4 separate regions of the Homo sapiens genome follow, and all the other regions are linked to region 4. The links are contacts of gene promoters, found by promoter capture Hi-C in human tissues and cell types (Jung and others, 2019). All regions are on one chromosome and are shown on one strand. The core of a region is centred on a gene start or on the middle of the fragment in contact, and the rest is flanking DNA. Distances in the headings are between cores, read along the strand shown.

The links. The method cuts DNA at HindIII sites, captures the fragments that hold promoters and counts their contacts. A contact is called where the count stands out against the background at its distance.
Region 1: a contact is called between a fragment that was not itself captured here and the fragment with the promoter of KIF26B in region 4, in 1 of the 25 tissues and cell types used here (lymphoblastoid cells).
Region 2: a contact is called between a fragment that was not itself captured here and the fragment with the promoter of KIF26B in region 4, in 1 of the 25 tissues and cell types used here (bladder).
Region 3: a contact is called between a fragment that was not itself captured here and the fragment with the promoter of KIF26B in region 4, in 1 of the 25 tissues and cell types used here (heart right ventricle).

Annotation. Positions count from the first base shown.
Region 1 is chr1:245,497,917-245,501,124 of GRCh38, forward strand. All of the region lies in intron 4 of KIF26B (kinesin family member 26B), which reads left to right. Among named protein-coding and RNA genes, the nearest start is that of KIF26B-AS1, 270 kb to the left of the region's middle. The HindIII fragment of the contact is 4,253 bases long and covers 1-3,208 here.
Region 2 is chr1:245,574,183-245,577,412 of GRCh38, forward strand. The region is part of intron 5 of KIF26B (kinesin family member 26B); the gene reads left to right. Among named protein-coding and RNA genes, the nearest start is that of KIF26B-AS1, 340 kb to the left of the region's middle. The HindIII fragment of the contact is 4,893 bases long and covers 1-3,230 here.
Region 3 is chr1:245,663,572-245,666,886 of GRCh38, forward strand. The region is part of intron 10 of KIF26B (kinesin family member 26B); the gene reads left to right. It overlaps LOC105373265 (a long non-coding RNA gene), which reads right to left. Exons shown (of 6, transcript XR_007066988.1): 6 at 2,592-3,315. Among named protein-coding and RNA genes, the nearest start is that of KIF26B-AS1, 430 kb to the left of the region's middle. The HindIII fragment of the contact is 6,064 bases long and covers 1-3,315 here.
Region 4 is chr1:245,153,609-245,156,656 of GRCh38, forward strand. It overlaps KIF26B (kinesin family member 26B), which reads left to right and starts at 1,377. Exons shown (of 15, transcript NM_018012.4): 1 at 1,377-1,879; 2 at 2,674-3,048. The coding sequence starts at 1,817. RefSeq lists enhancers at 1-188, 189-864 and silencers at 719-918, 2,786-3,048. The HindIII fragment of the contact is 11,465 bases long and covers 1-3,048 here.

The DNA.
Region 1 (3,208 bases), core at 253-2,752, 340 kb after region 4:
TATCTTTAGTAGAGACAGGGTTTCACCTTGTTGGCCAGGCTGGTCTCAAACTCCTGACCTCGTGATCTGCCTGCCTTGGCCTCCCAAAGTGCTGAGATTTATTCTATCATATTATCATTCATCTCAAACTCCATATGTAACTTGCAGTTGATTTTTCAACATTCAAACATCATTTATTATTATCCATCAAATTGCCATCTTGTTCCATTTCCCTGCATATCTCCTTTCTGTGTAGAAGTCTTCCTTCTGGGAGCAGGACGAGGTAAGTGAGATGAGAGCCTGGGCTGTCACACTTTATATTCTAATATTTTTAACCCAATTTGCTTTAGTGTGGTCAGAGAAGCTGGAAATTGAATCAGAGACCTCAGGGGCAACTCAGGTGATAAGTCAGCCTGGATGTGAAGTTTATCAGTCTTGGCTCCGTGTGTTTAATTAGAAGCTAGTGGAATGTTATCATTGACTCCGCCAGCAAACATCTTCACTGGAGAGGCAGCTGGGTTAAGGAAGAACATGCTGAAAATAGAGCTTATGAACATAGCTGAAAACTGTTTATCCACAGCAACCAGCAGAAGTGAGGGGCGGGAGAGAGCCCAGCAGTTGGCAATCAGAGCGTGCATATAAGCAAAGGGATCATTTCTTCCAAGCTGTGTCAGAGGGCACTCAATCATGTATACTGAGCTTTCTTCCTGAAAAGATAGTTCAAATCTGTGTGGATTGTCAAGTTTTCTTCCTCTCCATAATATGGTCATTAATATTTCACTTCTTTTAGCCAGGAACTTTCAATAATTCAACATCTGCTCTTCCAGGCTGCCTGCAAGAAAGGCCAGTTTCCACCCACTGCCCTCCTGGGTTTGTCCTTCCAGGTACAGAATCTGAGAGGTACTGGGGAAAAGAGGAGGCAACGAGGCTAGTCTCTCACTCCTCTCTCTTCCCTACCTGTGTTTCTTGGACGGGTTCACATTCTTCTTGCATCAGATAGTAAATGCAGTCAAGGAACTGGTGAGGAAAATGGGAAGTTTTTTTGTGCATGTGTTAGATGGGAAGAGGAAAATTGGCAAGTGTTCTTTAAGAAAAGCAGACACAGTTACATTCATGAGGCAACCGGTTGCCAGACTAGTGTGACTCCTGAAGGAACAACTTGGATTGCCTTTTTTTTTAAAATCAGTTTTTATCTAGACCAAATCTCTTTTATTTCAGTGATGTCAAGCAGCTCATGTTACCTTCGCCCAAAGAGAAAGATGTATGGGAGCTTCAAACTCAGGACAATTCTCAATGTCCTTAGCGTTGACTCATATTAAAAATGTTAAGAGAACACTAGAATAATAGTGATGTGTGTGTGTGTGTGTCTGTGTGTGTTTGTGGTTTCCTTTCCTGGAAACCCTTTCTAGGATTAACCTAGGTTAATCCAACATAATGATAGTCTGAAGAGGTTGAATAAATCAGCCCAGATACGCAGGTGATTTAGCCAAGGCTACATGGTGAGTCTAGGGGCAAAGCCGAATAAGGGTGGAGTCCCTAATTCATAGCTAACCTGCACTGCCATAGTCTATCGGAAGTGAGGTAGAGATTATTATCTGATTTTATTATTCCGGGACACGTAAACTTGGCTGAGGACACACAGCTCGGAACCCTAGCCCATAGATAAATAGACAACTTTATAGAGTATAATTTGAGTAAGCCAAAAAGTTTCCACTTACATATATTCTAGACCTCCACTTTAAAGTAATTTGAGGGGGACAGAGAGGCAAAGTGAGCAGCATTTCTTCAGAAATCACGTTGTCTGGAAATAGCTCAGTAGTGCGCATGGCACTCCGTTAGCCAATTGCTGTCCTGGGCCTGGAGGGCCATAGAGCTGGACAGAGGCCTTGTTTTGTTTGGTTCGGTTTGTGCTTGTGGTATTCAGGCTGGTAGGTCTGATGGCTGGTAAAGTGCTAAAGCAATCATGGGTGCGAGGTACACAGTGGGGAATGTATCAAACGGTCACTTTCCTAAGGGAGACATTCTCCCCCTTCTAGGAATTTGCTGAGGGTTGGGCTGAGTGGAAGCGTTTCCTTCCTGCCTGTTCTCTGACTTCCAATGCGCACTTTGTTTTAGGCTGGATAGCTACACATCATCAATGAGATTGCAGACAGTCCCTGTGCTTGCTAAGAACGGTGGAAGGTTTTAGGACTACTGTGTCTTACATATTCATTGTCTAAGCCCCCAAGTGTACAGCATTCAAAGCTATTCCTTCCAGCTCTGAAATTTCTTTGGGTGAAAGCTGTCGACTTTCCTTAGAGGAAAAAGAAAGCCATTTCATCAGGGCACTGACCTCATTCCTGTAAGCTTGACTGGCTGAGCCCTGGGAGTGACACCTGTCCCAGTCTTTGGCTTTAGCAAGTGATTGATTTGAAGAAATGGTATTGGTCATTTAACCCACAAACTGATTCTGAAATAAGACTCATTTGTAATAAATACATCTCACATTTGAGGACTGAATTCTTCAACACACATTCCAAGTTTTGTCAGTTAGAAAAAATACAGTACTTTGTAAAGTATAAAATCCATAACTCTATATAACCCAAACAATAGGTTGAAAACTGGGTTTGTTGTAAGTAACGTATTAATAACACCTGGTGTAATACCTGTTAACATGCTCGGTGCCTGAAGCAAATTGGCAAGCGTTTCATCTCCTTTTGCCAATAACTTGTCAGAAACTGACTGAGGGTTCCTTCCAAACTCTCAGAAGAACATCCAAGGCCAGGCAGCTTATGTAGCTCTTGAACTTCACCAGGGCGAGGGCTGGGCCCCGGCCAACTAGAGAAGCCACAGCTGAATCAGAGGAGGAATTCCGAAGAGCTGGGCAGGGGCCTCCTGATGGCGAGATGCTGAATGGGATAAGAATGTGATGAATTAATTGATTTGTATCTTACGCAAGAGCTGCAGTGAGGATGGTGAAATTCATTTCCTTCCATAGGTCCTGCCCCTTTCTTTGTAAGTCAGTCAGCAGCATTGCCAGAGCTGCCTAAAATGCCACCTCCATCCCCTGACAATCAAAGAGGAATCTTTTCATGCAGGCTGAGTTCTAATGACGAACTCATTAAAATCAAGACCACTTACTATGCGTATGTGATGTGTTATAAGCACTTTCAGATGCATGATTTTAAACATTCTGGCCATCCTGTGAGGTCAGTACCATATTATCCCCATTTCGTGGACAGAACAGTCG
Region 2 (3,230 bases), core at 64-2,563, 420 kb after region 4:
TGTCCAGGCTGGAGTGAGTGGCGTGATCTCGGCTCACTGCAAACTCCACCTCCCGGGTTCAAGCGATTCTTGAGCCTCAGCCTCCCGAGTAGCTGGGATTACAGGCATGTGCCACCATGCCAGGCTAATTTTTGTATTTTTGGTAGAGATGGGGTTTCACCTTGTTGGCCAGACTGGTCTCGAACTCCTGACCTCAGGTGGTCTGCCCGCCTCGACCTCCCAAAGTGCTGGGATTACAGGTGTGAGCCACCATGCCTGACCGAGACCATTTAATTTGAATAAGTGCCCAAGAAGCAAAGGACTGAGCCAGGCAAGATGATCTGAGAGCAGGAAGGTGTGGCCAGGCTGGCTGAGCCATGAACAGGCTGGTTGCTCCAGGGCCGGTGTCTCCCCTGGAAGGTTCTGGAGTTCAGGCTGTGTTGGAGTCCACCTTCTGCCCCTCAAGTCCATGGCAGGGCCGTTGACTGCTGCTCTTGCCTGAGTCTCCTGGTTGCAAAGGCCAGGCAAGGCACTGCCTAACGTTGTGACTAACATCGTGGGTGTGACGGGGAGTCAGGGTGGCTTCTCTGTTGCCCCAAGTATGCCCTGCACATCACCATCTTCCTTTTCAAAGAATGGTGAAAATAGGAATTGTGCTCTTTAGGGAAGATTGTCTTTTTTATATCTTTTTCTTTTTTTTTTCTTTTTTTTTTTTTTTTTGAGACAGAGTCTTGCTCTGTTGCCCAGGCTGGAGCGCCAGTGGCGCGATCTCGGCTCACTGCAAGCTCCACCTCCCGGGTTCACGCCATTCTCCTGCCTCAGCCTCCCGAGTAGCTGGGACTACAGGCGCCCGCCACCACACCCGGCTAATTTTTTTGTATTTTTAGTAGAGACGGGGTTTCACCATGTTAGCCAAGATGGTCTCCATCTCCTGACCTTGTGATCCACCCGCCTCGGCCTCCCAAAGTACTGGGATTACAGGCTCAAGCCACCGCGCCTGGCCTTTTATATCTTTTTCAAAGAAAAAGGTAGGCTGGGGGCGGTGGCTCACGCCTGTAATCCCAGCACTTTGGGAGGCAGAGGCGAGTGGATCACCTGATGTCAGGAGTTCGAGACCAGCCTGGTCAACATGGTGAAACCTCATCTCTACTAAAAATACAAAAATTAGCCAGGCATAGTGGTGCACACCTGTAGTCTCAGCTACTCGGGAGGCTGAGGCAGGAGAATTGTTTGAACCCGGGAGGCAGAGGTTGCAGTAAGCTGAGATCGTGCCACTATACTCCAGCCTGGGCAACAGTGTGGGACTCCATCTCAAAAAAAAAATGTAGAAAAATAAAAACAATCATCTATTCATGGCTAGGTAGAGGTCAGATTTCACTCACTGACCTGTTTTTAGATTTTCCTTCGATATTCCAACTCTTAGATATGTCAGGTTGCTGGAGTTGCTGACTGCACTAACTTCTGCATTCTCCAACTTTCCCCTCAGAGAGTGGCTTGTCTAAATCACCCAAATTACCATGTGGGTGAGAATGTTGGGGAAATGAAGATTTAAAATCCACAATATTATTAGTGCTGTCAATATCATAATATCATAAATGTCCATACGAGGAAAGGAGACCTTGGCAGAGGCTACCTTTTCTATCTGTTTTGTGTGTGTGTGTGACATTCTTCATGAATGACTTCTTGAACTATGAAAATGAGGCAACTGTGGCCTGAACTCTCTCATTTGCCTCCTCCCCTTCCTGGCATTTACTTAAGACATTTCCTGATGCTTCCCGGGGGTGTTTCATGCTGGTGTCTAAGCCAGAGATCACACCTCCCACCCACCATGCCTGCACCTCCACTCCTGCAAAGGTTTTTAGAGTCAGGGTCCCTATCAGTGTCTAAGCATCAGGCTCTTCAGACCCTGACCTTTGAAAAGTCCAAATGGCTCTTGAGTGCCCCATTTTCTCCCAATCTGAAAACTGTAAGAATGAAATATAACAATTAAGCCTCAGAGGATCACAAGCGCAGGTGATCCTCATGAGCCCAGACTGATATTTCTAAATTATCTAGATCTTCCTTGAACATAGACTCCAGAGTTACCGGGACGCAGCGTTCCCATTCCACTGGGCAGCCATCTATACGTGAAGTGTCATTGTTGGTGGTTTGGGAGTTTTATTTTCCCTTTCATAACACGTCTCCTGTCTCCTCAGCTCCCCCAGAACTCCCTGTAATCATATTTGCTATCAGTTGTGTTTGTGGAGGTGTAGTGAATTTTTCAGGGATGAATACCAATGCTGAGACCCTCCAAGAAGACCTGTGAGGTCAGCCTCTGTCAGCGTGACAGCCCAGTGGGAGGGGGCCCCAAGCTACACAGCAGGAGATGATTGTCACACGTCCTGGTGAGAGAGCCTGCTCACCAGCTCTGGACCTGCACTCCGTGTGCCTGGCCAGTAGATAGGTTTCCCTGGTGTTCCCCAGGCCTTTTCTGCTTCATGACATTGATTATATAGCTAGCATTTCATTTCAGTAGGGCTTGGGAAAGGGGGTTCTTTATTGCAGCTCCTGTAAAAACCCATTTCCACACGAATCACCTCTGGCCTTTTTCTGTCTGGCACATTGTTTAGACAGGAGGGGTTTGTGTGTATCACTTCCCTCCAGCCTCTCCTAAGTGGAAGCCTGGGATTTGGAAATTGGGATTTTTTTCCTTCTCTCTAAATGAATGCCTTGTTGGATACCTTGTTGATAAAATGCCATTTCTCACATCTTTATAGCTTAAGGGGCTACCTTAGCCACAAGGCACAGTCCCTTATTACTGATAAGAGCTACTGTCATTTCACTTATATACTTTGGGAGATTCATTTTTGCTTCTCAGCATCATTTATGTTATGATTCATATCTAAATTTAAGGTAAAATTTTATGCTTCACCATCGACTTTTCAAAGTTTGTCTTTGAAAATGATTTTTAAAATGATCTAATCCAAACCTCTCAGTTTACAGGTGAGAAAACAAATCTAGGGCAGAGTTTTTCCACAGGGGCACGAGTGATGTCATGGACCAGATGTTTGTGTCGTAGGGGGATGCCTGGTGCACTGTAGGGCATTTCCTGGGATCTCAAGCTTCTATCCTCTGGATGCCAGTAGCACCCTCCAAGTTGTGACCAACAAAAATGTCCCCTGTCACACAGCTAAGTCATAACAGAGTCAGGCATAAGACACGGGTGTCCCGACTCCCCCATCTGCCCTTTCCAGGTTGGGCAACAGAATTAA
Region 3 (3,315 bases), core at 295-2,794, 510 kb after region 4:
GCATTTTATTTGTGAGAATTCTGCAAGCTCTGGGATAAAGATAGTTTACTCCAGACAGCATTTGTGTTTACTTCTACCAGGTGCCAGTTGAGGATAGTCTAAACTACATTCTCAGCTTGAAATATTTTTGACCACCCAGATATGGAGAACTAAGCGTGCAAACCTGCATGTAATTCAGACCAGGGTTCGCAATTCTCAGGACAGTTTCTTTCCCCTCTGCTCAGTGCTTATTTCAAGACAGTCATGTCTTGAATACCTACAAGGGACAATTATTGGGGGTTGATTTTCCTGTGAAAATTCACATGTGGAGCAGGCCTCCAGCTTTGACTGCTGCCACATAAAACTCAGCAGGGTGTTACCTGGCTGGGCAGATGTCTTTGGGGTGAAAGAAAGCTTGCCTGTTCTGCTTATTTATCTTGAGTTCCCAACTTCACTTGCTTTTTTTTGGCCTGAGGATTCTTTACCTTTTTGCAGGTTCAACAATGCATTTACTAAGACTTAAAAATAATATCCACGGCCGGGCATGGTGGCTCACGCCTGTAATCCCAGCATTTTAGGAGGCCGAGGCAGGCAGATCACCTGAGGTCGGGAGTTCAAGACCAGCCTGACCAACATGGAGAAACCCTGTCTCGAGTAAAAATACAACATTAGCCGGGCATGGTGGCGGGCGCCTGTAATCCCAGCAACTGAGGCAGGAGAATCGCTTGAACCCGGGAGGTGGAGGTTGCAGTGAGCCGAGATCACGCCATTGCACTCCAGCCTTGGCAACAAGAGTGAAACTCCATCTCAAAAAAAAAAAAAATCCACAACATTTAACTGTACTTGGTAAGAAGGTTTTCCTAGGAACCCAGCCTATCATATTGCTCCTTTGCTTTTTTTTTTCTCCTGTTACACACCTCTCCTTCTTTTAAATAAGTAAGGAGATCATATAACTTATTATCGAAGCCACTTTTGAGAGTGAAAAGGGACACTTAATTATTATTATTTCATGTTTTGAAATATTTTCTGACACAGCCGTCTATATTGGTGAACCTATAAAACAGTTCTATTCAAAAATTACTTTCAAACATGAAATGCTTTCTTAATAAAAGAAAATACATCAAAGTAGAAAAAGGTTAAAACTGCTTTATATTGTTTATCTGGACATTAAAAAATAAGCAGAATAATCACTTAATATACTTTTGTGTATTTTAATCATTGTCTTCACTATCTTCTAATACCACTTCAGTAGTATTTTTCTTAACACTATTTTTTCTATTGTTAATGTCAGGGCGTTTTTCTCCTTCACATAATCCAACTGCCTTACCTATATATTTACATATATGTTTATGTGCATTAACACATCAAACCATCTGTTTTTGATAACTGTGGCTTCTGTTTCTCTTGATAGAATATCACAGTTTGTTTAAAAATAAGTGTGAATTTATTCATACAACCACCAATTACAAGTTTATTTCAGTGAAATACATTTCTCAATTCAGTGAGAATATTGTGTGTTAAAGTTTCAAAGGATCTTCCCACAAGTCAATTTCCAGAGCATACTTGTAGAATTTCACATTTTAATCTTCTATACAGTTTGAGCTCTTGTCATCTATATTTCAGGGTCCCCTGTTTGCAAATTTTGTTTTTAATCATTGCAATTCATTACAGGCTTCAGAGGCTGAGCTTTTTGTGTTTCATTGGTTGAACACTTGATTATGGATTACAACTTATTTTGAACCACAAGCCATCAAAATTTAGATGACTTGTTTCCAAAACTGGAGTACTTTTTTTGTAGAGCATTTGGATTGACTCATGAAGTATGTTTTAAAGTTAAAAGCTGCCTAATGTCAGCAATTTCCTATCATTTCATTATTTCAAGTGTCAAATATTTCTCAAATCCAACTTGACAGGCAGCAAAGAGAGAACCGCACACTCTACTGATGAAATGTTTTTAATCCAATTTAAACTTCATAAAAAATTTTTGTAGTTCAGTTACTCTCAGTTTATGTAAATTTTACACATTTCAAAAACTATAGCTTGTGCTTCTCTGGGTAGAATTAGAACTGTGTTTGAGCTCAGTTATGAATTACATAGGTACATCAATTACAGGTACATTTCAGCATAATAAGTTTCTCAGCTTGGAACATTATATCTTTTTTTTATTTTTTATTTTTTTTGAGACTGAGTCTTTCTCCATCACCCAGGACTGCAACCTCCGCTTCCCGAGTTCAAGTGATCCTCCTGCCTCAGCCTCCCAAGTAGCTGGGACTACAGGCACGCACCACCATGCCCAGCTAATTTTTGTATTTTTGGTAGAGCTGGGGTTTCACCATGTTGCCCAGGCTGGTCTCAAACTCCTGACCTCCAGTGATCCACCCGCGGTCAGCCTCCCAAAGTCCTGGCATTACAGGCATGAGCCACTGCTCCTGGCTGGAACATTATGTCCTTTTTTTTTTTTTTTTTTTTGAGACGGAGTCTCTCTCTGTCGCCCAGGCTGGAGTGCAGTGGTGCAATCTCAGCTCACTGCACCTCTGCCTCCTGGGTTTAAGCAATTCTCCTCCCTCAGCCTCCCAAGTGGCTGGGATTACAGGCAGGTGCCACCACACTTGGCTAATTTTTTTTGTTTTTAGTATAGATGGGGTTTCACCATATTGGCCAGGCTGGTCTTGAACTCCTGACATTATGTCTTAAAGTGCTAACTCTGTTCACTGCACATAACCTCATATGTTCCTAGATGAGACCACTGAAATAGAAAGTGAAAGTCTATCCAATTCTTCCATCTCATTTTAATAAGTCTTAGTAATAACTACTTGTATTTTGAATAAAGAAATGAAAAATCCAGGACAAAATAAACCAGACAGGATGCAGGGTGATAGGCATACACTGAGACTTCTAGGCAAGTGAGCAACTGGTCAGCCGAATTAAAGCCCTTGGAGGGGTTCCTGTACCCTAGGTTCTTAATACATGCTTGTTGAATGAACAATCGGAGGTAGCTTATTTGTTTGAATAAGGCTTTCTGTGTGTTACTGCAAAGGAATGAGGATGGGACAGGTTTAGGCTTTGTAACAAGACCTCCCAAAGGCTAACACATAGGCGGCTGCTTCCTCGGCAAGCAGAGATGACGCTTGTGGCCCTTTTTGAAACACCTTTTTTACATGCCAGAGGTATTTAACTTGTCCGTACCAAATGGTACGGACAAGTTAAAAGGGTTATCCGCCCTTTTAACTCAAATATCCCGTTGGGATCAAACATTTTTGCTCTGGAGACCTTTGTACCTGTGCAGCATCAGTATAAGGATAGCCTGGGGGTGGTAACCCAGACACAGCTAACAGC
Region 4 (3,048 bases), core at 127-2,626:
GGGCAGAGCACGGGAGGCACAGAAGAAATTGTCCCCGAGGAAGGCAGAGTGGGGGCGTGGCCCCAGGCTTCCAGAACCCCGAACCTTTGTCTTCTTGCCCCCTCCTGCGTCGTCCACAGCTCAGAAGGAAGTCAGCGACCAGAAAGCCCTGAACGTCCTTCGCGCCCTCGCCCACCCCCGGGCTGGGTCTCCCCGCGGGCGCGGAGATGCCGTTACACCCCACGTGATCCCTGCGCCCGGCCAGTCCTTCCAGAGGCGTCTCGCGGGGTGTTAATTAAAGGTCACAACAAAACAGACCTGCTGGCTCACCAGAAGAAATGTCCTCCCGTGAAATGAAAAATGACACCCCAGAGCAGCCACGTGTGGAGCCTGGCATACGCCGGCTTCCTGCGCTCCTGGGCGCTGCGCCGGGGGACTGGGGCGGGGGGCGATCGGAGAGGGAGCGATGACGGGGTGCTCCGGAGACCCCGCGGGGCCCAGGCGCAGGAAGAAACGGGCGGCGGGGGGCGAGGGGCCCGATCCCACGCAAGGAGAGGCCAAGGCCAGCTCGCGCCACACCCCCTCTCCAGGCCAGAGTCGTCCGCGTGCAGCGCGGCGAAGCCCTCAGTTTCCCCTGCCCGGCAGCGGCCCGCTGGGTCACCAGGCTCACCTGTCCCAGCCCCGGGCGGCTTAGTCCATCACAGACCGGGGCTCGGGCGGGCGGGGGACCAAGGGCCCTAGTCCTGCGGCTGCGGTCGGGGAGGGTGGCCCCCCGGCCGGCCCGGGGTCGGTAGGGCAATTCCAGAAAAGGTTTGCCCGGCAGCTCTCCGAGAACAAAGGGCGGGGGGAGGACCCGGCATGTTTGTGGACTTGTTTGTGACTCAATCCCTTTTGCACGGCGTTTCACAGACAGACCTGCAAGCCTTGTCAGGAAGAGAAAGAACTTGGGGGCGGGGGAGGCTGGGGCACCGCATTTCCGTCCAGCCACGCTCGCTCGCGCGGCCCCCGGGCTCCAGGCTCGCGCAGCGGCGTTTCATTAGAGCCCCGGGCCCGGGCCGCGCGCCAGGAACTTCCCCGCACGCGGCGAGATCGACGATCCCCCGCCCCCAGCCCCAGCCCGGCTCCAGGCCTCGCAATGTCAGGCACGAGCGCCGCCACATAAAATGGATCCCGGCCGGCGCGGCGAGGGCGGCAGGTTCCCGAGGCTCCTCCGCGCTGCGCCCGGGCGCACACGCGCGCTGTGACCGCCGACCGCTCCCGGGCCACGCGGAGCCGCCCCTCTCCCGGCCCTCGCGCAACTGTCAGGCGAAACGGGCCGGCGGATATTGGCTCGGCGACACGCCGAGGCTCCTCCCCGAGTCTGGATCTTTATATTTTGGGAGAATTTCTTTGAACTCAGTTACCAAGCTCGGTGAAGGAGACAAGTTCCCACAGCTGACTCGGCTCGGCTCTCCCACCTTCCCGGCAGCGGCCGCGAGCCCTGATTGTATCCCTCGCTTTCCTCGTGGGGGAGCACGGACTGACTTGGCTGAAGAAAATGCCAGTTCTGTGGATGTGGCCGTGACAAGAGGACGTGCGGCTGGAAGAGGCAGAAGGGGACGAGGAAAAGCATGCTTTGAAGAGAAGAATAAACCAGCGACCCCAACCCTTTCTGCAAATTGGTGCTATTACTTGTGGGATCCATTTGCTTTCATTCCCTCCCACCCCACCGCTGAAGAAACCTTGCCCTGAGGGCTGAGAGCCAGCCCCCTGCAGCCGGGGGACGCTTCTGGGTTGGAGGACCTTCTGGATGTAGCGTCGGTGGAACCTTTAGATACTCTCCTCTGGAAAAGCCACCATGAATTCGGTAGCTGGGAATAAAGAGAGGCTTGCGGTCTCCACCAGGGGCAAGAAATACGGGGTAAGTTGTGACGGTACGACGCGGAGACGCGTTACCAGACCCATCTCGGCGGAGGTCCCCCTTTCCCCGGGATCGTGCGGCCCCGGCCCCGAGCTCTCCCCCGCTGCAGAGGCGCCCCCGGGGCTGGCGGGGTTGTGAGTGCGCGGAGGCGGGTCGGCCGCGGGGACGCCCGCACGCTCGCCTCGCTCTCGGAATTTTTTCAGCCCTCTCGTTCCTTCCTTTCCACGCACCCGTAACTTTTGCCGCATTCCTGCACTTCTAGGCAGAGTGAAGCCGAAGGGGAGGGTTTCCCATGAATGCTGGGCAGTACCTCGGATCGTTTAGCTGGAGCCGTGAGAGCCTCTCGTTTACCTGCAGGATCCGGAGAGTTGGACCCCGTATGAATAAAAATCCTGAAATCACAGCCCTCCCCCTACCCCCCCCATAGGGTCTTCCAGGATTTTGTTCCCGGGATCTTGCTGGGATAGGTGCCGGCTTCAAAAGCGTGGGGCGCTGAACCTATGGATCCCCCCCGCCTTGCAGAAGCCGTGGAAACGGCCCCGAGCGAGTCCCCTTCCTGACCCCAGGAGGAGGCCACCGGGGACCAGCGCAGGGGTCACCTGGGCGGTGGGGACTCACTTAAGGACAATTAACGAGACAGACGGAGGGCAATTTGGCCGCAGGGCTTGGAGAGGTCCCCAACCGACTCCCGTGGGCGGTTCGAGCGGGTACTTGGTGGCGCACGTATGACCCAGCTCCTGGGCGCTGCAGCCCGCCGCCTTGCAGCCCCTGACACCGGCGTGTCTTCCCCGCAGGTGAATGAAGTCTGCTCGCCCACCAAGCCCGCAGCGCCCTTCTCCCCGGAAAGCTGGTACCGGAAAGCATACGAGGAGTCGCGCGCCGGCAGCCGGCCCACTCCTGAGGGCGCGGGCTCAGCGCTCGGCTCCTCGGGGACCCCGTCTCCCGGCTCGGGCACCTCGTCCCCGAGCTCGTTCACCGGCTCCCCGGGACCCGCCTCCCCCGGCATCGGCACTAGTTCGCCGGGCTCCTTGGGCGGCTCTCCGGGCTTCGGCACAGGCTCCCCGGGCTCCGGCAGCGGCGGCGGCTCCTCCCCCGGCTCGGACCGCGGCGTCTGGTGCGAGAACTGCAACGCCCGCCTGGTGGAGCTCAAGAGGCAGGCCCTGAGGTTG